Linked DNA regions of Homo sapiens: region 2 is linked to region 1. The links are contacts of gene promoters, found by promoter capture Hi-C in human tissues and cell types (Jung and others, 2019). All regions are on one chromosome and are shown on one strand. The core of a region is centred on a gene start or on the middle of the fragment in contact, and the rest is flanking DNA. Distances in the headings are between cores, read along the strand shown.

What was found. The method cuts DNA at HindIII sites, captures the fragments that hold promoters and counts their contacts. A contact is called where the count stands out against the background at its distance.
Region 2: a fragment that was not itself captured here is called in contact with the fragment with the promoter of TRIM28 in region 1 in 1 of the 25 tissues and cell types used here (lymphoblastoid cells).

What each region holds. Positions count from the first base shown.
Region 1 is chr19:58,542,058-58,545,911 of GRCh38, forward strand. It overlaps TRIM28 (tripartite motif containing 28), which reads left to right and starts at 2,007. Exons shown (of 17, transcript NM_005762.3): 1 at 2,007-3,040; 2 at 3,368-3,480; 3 at 3,707-3,839. The coding sequence starts at 2,701. It also overlaps the pseudogene RN7SL525P. RefSeq lists enhancers at 1,182-1,686, 1,838-2,147 and silencers at 2,268-2,477, 2,558-2,717, 2,738-3,027. The HindIII fragment of the contact is 31,195 bases long and covers 1-3,854 here.
Region 2 is chr19:57,382,898-57,386,751 of GRCh38, forward strand. No RefSeq gene overlaps it. Among named protein-coding and RNA genes, the nearest start is that of ZNF548, 5.0 kb to the right of the region's middle. The HindIII fragment of the contact is 6,124 bases long and covers 1-3,854 here.

The DNA of each region.
Region 1 (3,854 bases), core at 757-3,256:
TCAGACAGGATTCTCCCCACACAGACCCTGCTTCCCTCCTCAGACAGGATTCTCCCCACACAGACCCTGCTTCCCTCCTCAGACAGGATTCTCACCCCACACACCCTGCTTCCCTCCTCAGACAGGATTCTCCCCACACACACCCTGCTTCCCTCCTCAGACAGGATTCTCCCCACACAGACCCTGCTTCCCTCCTCAGACAGGGATTCCCCTCCCCACACAGACCCTCTTTCCCTCAGACAGGATTTTCCCCCCACACACCCTGCTTCCCTCCTCAGACAGGATTCTCCCCACATACACCCTGCTTCCCTCCTCAGACAGGATTCTCCCCACACACACCCTGCTTCCCTCCTCAGACAGGATTCTCCCCACACAGACCCTGCTTCCCTCCTCAGACAGGGCTCCCCTCCCCACACAGACCCTCTTTCCCTCAGACAGGATTTTCCCCACACACACCCTACTTTCCTCCTCAGACAGGATTCTCCCCACACAGACCCTGCTTCCCTCAGACAGGATTCTCCCCACTCAGACCCTGCTTCCCTCCTCAGGCAGGATTCTCCCCACACAGAACCTGCTTCCCTCCTCAGACAGGATTCTCCCCACACACACCCTGCTTCCCTCCTCAGACAGGATTCTCCCCACACACACCCTGCTTCCCTCCTCAGACAGGATTCTCCCCACACAGACGCTGCTTCCCTCCTCAGACAGGATTCTCCCCACACAGACCCTGCTTCCCTCCTCAGACAGGGTTCCCCTCCGCACACACACCCTCTTTCCCTCAGACAGGATTTTCCCCACACAAACCCTACTTTCCACCTCAGACAGGATTCTCCCCACATGGACCTGCTTCCTTCCCTCCTTGGGATTCCCCACTGTTGAGGTTCAGTTTCCCCATCTGGAAAAGCATCAAAGTCAGGGTAGCTGCTGACGAAAACATGGGGAGGGGATGCCTTGGGGGGCTGGGTGGGATTTCACAGACTCATTGCTCTTTAGCCTCTTGTGATTTATATATATGTGTATATATATATATATATTTTTTTTCTTGATGGGGGGTTGGGGGGCCCGGCGTGGTGGCTCACACCTGTAATTCCAGCACTTTGGGAGGCCAAAGTGGGTCTATCATCTGACGTCGGGAGTTCGAGACCAGCCTGGCCAACGTGGTGAAACCCCGTCTCTATTAAAAATACAAAAATTAGCCAGGCGTGATGGCAGGCCCCTGTAATCCCAGCTACTCGGGAGGCTGAGGCAGAAGAATCGCTTGAACCCGGGAGGCGGAGGTTGCAGCGAGCCGAGATCGTGCCACTGCACTCCAGCCTGGGCAACAGAGCAAAACTCCGTCTCAAAACAAACACAAAAACCTTTCTCTCCTCTTTTGAGATGGAGTTTCACTCTTTTCTCCCAGGCTGTAGTGCAATGGCACGATCTCGGCTCACTGCAACCTCCGCCTCCCGGGTTCAAGCGATTCTCCTGCCTCAGCCTCCCGAGTAGCTGGGATTACAGGCGCCTGCCACCACGCCCGGCTACTTTTTGTACTTTTAGTAGAGACGGGGTTTCACCACGTTGGCCAGGCTGCTCTCGAACTCCTGACTTAAGATCCAACCGCCTCGACCTCCCAAAGTGCTGGAATTACAGGCGTGAGCCGCCGCGCCCGGCCACATTTTTCTCCATCTGTGGTCTAGGCTGGCGTGCAGTGGCACAATCCCGCCTCACTGCTGCCTCGGCCTCCTGGGCTAAACGGAGCTTCCCGACTCGCCTAAGAAAGTGGTGGGATTACAGGTATGAGCCACGGCGCCCGGCTGTGATCTACATTTGATTCAGTCAAGTTTCTGTGTTTCTCAAGTTTAACTATAGCGTGGTTAAAATCCAAAAGTCAGCACCCGAGCTCACACAGGAGCTTCCTCCCTCTTGGGATGGAGACTCTCCTCCCCTCTCCCTGGACACAGCCCTTCACTCGGTCTTGGCCCCGCCTACTTCTCCATCGGCCCTGCCCCCTATCCCGAACTCTTAGTGACGCAGAGGCTGGAGACGACTCTACGGCGGCGAAGAGACGCGGGTTGAGGAAGAGGGACGGATTGCCCATGCGCTTGGGCGCACAGCGGCCCGCTTCTGTGTGGTCTGGAGGTGGAGCTGAGAGGGGAATCACACTCTATAAAGGTTCGCATACCCCACTGGCGGATTCAATTGCGGCAGTGACGTCACAGAGGCCCCGCCCCGCCCCCACAAGAGCCCCACCGACGTGGGGTTGGCGGTGGTGGAAGGACTAGGAGTTGGCGCGTGCGTACTGGCGGCCTCTCCCGCACCGACCGGCCTGGGCCCCGCCCCCGGGCGTGAGGCGCCCAATGCGCGTGCGCGGCGGCGTCGGCGCCAGTTATTTCTGTCCCGCCCCCCGGCCTCGGCTCTTTCTGCGAGCGGGCGCGCGGGCGAGCGGTTGTGCTTGTGCTTGTGGCGCGTGGTGCGGGTTTCGGCGGCGGCTGAGGAAGAAGCGCGGGCGGCGCCTTCGGGAGGCGAGCAGGCAGCAGTTGGCCGTGCCGTAGCAGCGTCCCGCGCGCGGCGGGCAGCGGCCCAGGAGGCGCGTGGCGGCGCTCGGCCTCGCGGCGGCGGCGGCGGCAGCGGCCCAGCAGTTGGCGGCGAGCGCGTCTGCGCCTGCGCGGCGGGCCCCGCGCCCCTCCTCCCCCCCTGGGCGCCCCCGGCGGCGTGTGAATGGCGGCCTCCGCGGCGGCAGCCTCGGCAGCAGCGGCCTCGGCCGCCTCTGGCAGCCCGGGCCCGGGCGAGGGCTCCGCTGGCGGCGAAAAGCGCTCCACCGCCCCTTCGGCCGCAGCCTCGGCCTCTGCCTCAGCCGCGGCGTCGTCGCCCGCGGGGGGCGGCGCCGAGGCGCTGGAGCTGCTGGAGCACTGCGGCGTGTGCAGAGAGCGCCTGCGACCCGAGAGGGAGCCCCGCCTGCTGCCCTGTTTGCACTCGGCCTGTAGTGCCTGCTTAGGGCCCGCGGCCCCCGCCGCCGCCAACAGCTCGGGGGACGGCGGGGCGGCGGGCGACGGCACCGGTAAGTACGAAGTGATCGGTGCCACCCCTCCCCCTACTCTCTGCCTTTGATTCCGACTGGGTGCAGAGATGAGGATGCCACCTGGGCGAGAGGATGGGGGCCCGGACAGGGCACGGGAAATACTTTCTGGGTCCTGCATACGAACGTGGGTTTGTGCTGGCCGCTGAGATGGGACATCTGACTAAAGTTGGAGAAAAGAAGGCTCGGGGAGGGGAGGGGCTGGTTCGCTGCGGGATAATGGTCGGGGGCCCACCCAGCAGGGGAATGGTGGGGGCCATAACCTGGGTGGGAACTTGTAACAGTCTCCCACATCCCTGCTTCTCGAAGTGGTGGACTGTCCCGTGTGCAAGCAACAGTGCTTCTCCAAAGACATCGTGGAGAATTATTTCATGCGTGATAGTGGCAGCAAGGCTGCCACCGACGCCCAGGATGCGAACCAGGTGCGTCCTATCTCAGCAACCACAAGGAGGTTTCTGGGGAGGGGGCATCTGCGCAGGAGGAGCTTGGCACCAGCTCCAGGCTGTTACTCCACTTTCCCAAGGCTCTGGGTGGGCTGCCTAGGTTGGGTCAAGGGACCAATCTTAAATCTCCGGTTGTATTTTCTGGGATGTAAACGTGGATCTATCAAGTTGTCTTGCCTTCTCTGACCCTGCCTTTGTCTGGCAGTGCTGCACTAGCTGTGAGGATAATGCCCCAGCCACCAGCTACTGTGTGGAGTGCTCGGAGCCTCTGTGTGAGACCTGTGTAGAGGCGCACCAGCGGGTGAAGTACACCAAGGACCATACTGTGCGCTCTACTGGTACATGAGGCTGAG
Region 2 (3,854 bases), core at 832-3,331, 1.2 Mb before region 1:
TCTTCACAAAAAACACATAGTAAACATCATGGCACTGGGCTGCACAATACTTTGATAGAGCACGTTGATGTAAAGACATTTTTGTAAGTGTTTAGAGCATGCCTTTTATATCTAAACATGCAAAGAAATGAGTAGCCTCCTGTCGTAATAACCATTTACTGTAAACAACTGCCACCAGCTGCTTCTGACACTGCAGCTCTTGCTTGTGACAGCCATTACGCACAAAAACGTCAAGTTCTTTCACAGGACAAAGTAATCTCTGGTACCCCCCAAAACCAATGATATCAGGTAATGCACTACAAAAGAAGGCAGAATTTTAGACCTGAGATAAATCTGTCCTCTTAAAACTCTTGAGTGAGAGAGAGAGAGAGAGAGAGAGAGAGAGGGAGAGAGATTTCCTCATCTGGTTAGTGTAGATAGCAGGTTGGCTTCCTGAGCTGGTCAGTGCAGTAGTGGGTTAGAGTTCTGTTTTATATTTGGCTTGGCCATTGTTGATTTCTATAGTCAATTTCTTACATGTAAACAAGGAAGATAGCTATAATATTGAGATTTCTTGTTTTCTTAACTGGTCTTAGGTTGAAAATTGATTTTTCATTCTCCTCCCCGCTCCCCCCTCCCCCCACCATCCCATTCTTCTGCCTCTGCCGGATCTTCAGCTGGGTAGCATTTTGGTTTTGTTTGTTTTTTAACCTGGAGGATGTCCCCAAATATCAAAACCTAAACTTCTGATTCTTAGAAGTCCTCCCTTCGATGAGTTGCTAGTTTTATTTCTGAACATGAACTTACCAAAACATCCCCCAGAAATCCCCTGGTCTCAGACATAACTCTCTATGCTTCCCATTCCATGGCAGCAACTCAGCCTAACTCATCCAAAGCAAAAAAGCAATCCCTTCTTGCTTAAGTGACACAAGGATCCCCAGATGAACAAGTAGCTGTATCACCCTTCAATTAAATGTAATAATATTTACTTCTGGTGGAACCTCTCCTTCCTTGGAACAAAGGGCCCCCAACCAGCAGAATTTACAATTAAGAAGAAGTGGCCAGACACAGTGGCTCAAGCCTGTAATCCCAGCACTTTGGGAGGCCGAGGCAGGCAGATCATAAGGTCAGGAGTTCGAGACCAGCCTGGCCAACATGGTGAAACCCTATCTCTACTAAAGATACAAAAAATTAGCTGTGCGTGGTGGTGCGTGCCTGTAATCACAGCTACTCGGGAGGCTGAGGCAGGAGAATTGCTTTAACCCGGGAAGAGGGGGTTGCAGTGGGCTGAGATCATGCCATTGCACTCCAGCCTGGGCGACAGGGCAAAAAAAAAAATTAGCCGGGCATGGTGGCGGGCGCCTATAATCTCAGCTATTCAGGAGGCTGAGGCAGAAGAATCGCTTGAAGCCGGGAGGCAGAGGTTGCAGTGAGCTGAGATCGCGCCAATGCACTCCAGCCTGGGTGACAGAGCAAGATTCTGTCTCAAAAAAAAAAAAAGAAAAAAAGAAAAAAGAAGAAGGGTAGCAGAAATTCTGTGAATGAGTTACTAGGTTCAAAAATGAGGATGCTCAATATAATGCATAGGTTCAGAAAAAAATTACGATGAAAAGAATTGTCAAATTTTGTAACTGATACTTGACCTGGTTAAATTTGAATTATTTCTAATTCCCTATGTATATGTGCAGTGAGATAAAAGATAAATATTGTATGTGACATACTCATCATAAAATTATTTGTTGTTTATCTGAAATACATTCTAAATCAGGGGTCCCCAACCCCTGGGGCCACAGATGAGTACTATGGCCTGTTAGGAATGGGGCCATATAGCAGAGGGTGAGTGGCAGATGAGTGAGCATTGCTGCCTGATCTCCGCCTCCTGTCAGATCGGCAGCAGCATTAGATTCTCATAGGGGTGCAAACCCTACTGTGAACTGCACAAGAGAGGGATCTAGGTTGTATGCTCCTTATGAGAATCTAATGCCTCTGAAACCATCTGCCCCCAAACCCCTCTCCCTTATCCATGGAAAAATTGTCTTCCACAAAACCGGTCCCTGGTACTAAAAAGCTTGGGGATCACAGTTCTAATGACATAACTCTTTCCCTGATAATTTGCTTCTACTTAACAATTCCTTGTTTTATATAATTTGCTTACAGAATTCCTGCAGTTACAGTCTTGATGCCATTTATGTTGTGACAAACCTTCGTCATTTGTCATATTCAACTTATTTCATTCCTTTATCTATTGGACATTCATTAATGAGAAACACACTCAACAGTAGCATTCTGAGCCTAAAGACTCATGATGATAAACAGTGTAGAAAACATTACAAACTCTATTATAATTATTCTACCATCTCCATCTGATTTTAACAAAAAAGTTATTTTGTCTCTTTCTTTGGAACTAGTTGAGAAAATCATGCACCTTCCAAAGTTAATATATATTTGACTGTCCACCATTTTCATTAGTCAATGGGCAATTACATAGAGTCGAAGACCTTCAAAGGGAATTTTAAATACTCCTCAGTTCATCATAAATTATAAACTTGCATTTTGACATTTTTTGCATTCAATATACTCAAAATATAGACAATAGCAACTTCTACAAGAGTTGAAAAACATTGTGGGTACAGTGGCTCATGCCTGTAATCGCAGCACTTTGGGAGGCCTAGGCGGACAGATCACTTGAGGTCAGGAGTTCGAGACCAGTATGGCCAACATGGCGAAACCCCATCTCTAATAGAAATACAAAAAATTAGCCAGGCATGGTGCCACGCGCCTGTAATCCCAGCTACTTGGGAGGCTGAGGCATGAGAATCACTTGAACCTGGGAGCCAGAGGTTGCAGTGAGCCGAGATTGCGCCACTGCACTCCAGCTGGGTGACAGAGTGAAACTGTATCTTAAAAAAAAAAAAGAAAAGAAAGAAAAAAGAAAACACTGGAGAAAACGTTGGATTTTACAATGTATGTCTGGGTCAGTTAGTCTACCATTTCATATCCAAACTCATAACTAATTACAAACAGATGGAACCATTGAAAGCTTGCAAACTTTTAAATTATATTCATATAATTAAAATATAAGTAATAATTTATATTCAATTAAGAATAAATGGGGCCAGGCGTGGTGGCTCATGCCTGTAATCCCAGCACTTTGGGAGGCCGAGGCAGGCGGATCATGAGGTCAAGAGATCGAGACCATCCTGGCCAACATGGTGAAATCCCGTCTCTACTAAAAATACAAAAAAATTAACTGGGCGTGGTGGCGTGCATATGTAGTTCCAGCTACTTGAGAGTCTGAGGCAGGAGAATCACTTGAACCGGAGAGGCGGAGGTTGCAGTGAGCCGAGATCACACCACTGCACTCCAGCCCAGCGACAGAGTGAGACTCCGTCTCAAAAAAAAAAAAAAGAATAAATAGATTTTGATATCTCAAGGGAAAAAAAGTGATATTCCTATTTGTCTGCAGGGCAGAGCTGTAGTGGTCAGGCAGTCTCCTCAAACAAAGCCAAAACTGCTATTATATGAGCTTTTAGGAAGGCTGGCCTTCAGGGACTGAGGACTTTCAGAAGCAGCAGAGTTGAAAGACTGATGGACTTTCAGGTATGTTAGTGTAAATGCAACCATTTACCAACTGGCTTTCATAAACAGGATTACTGACAGGAGGCACTTGTGGATTAGTTGTTGCCAGCAGCCTGGGGCTGCCACTGATTGACCATCTTTAGTACTGGGCCTTACCCCCATTGGAAAAATTTTAGAATCTTGGCCTAACAATGATTTGCTAAGTTTCTGGTTAATTACTGGGGTGAAGCTTTTGCTGACTAGCTGACTTTTAAAGCATAGGTACACATCCCAAGTTATCTCTAATTAATGGTGGT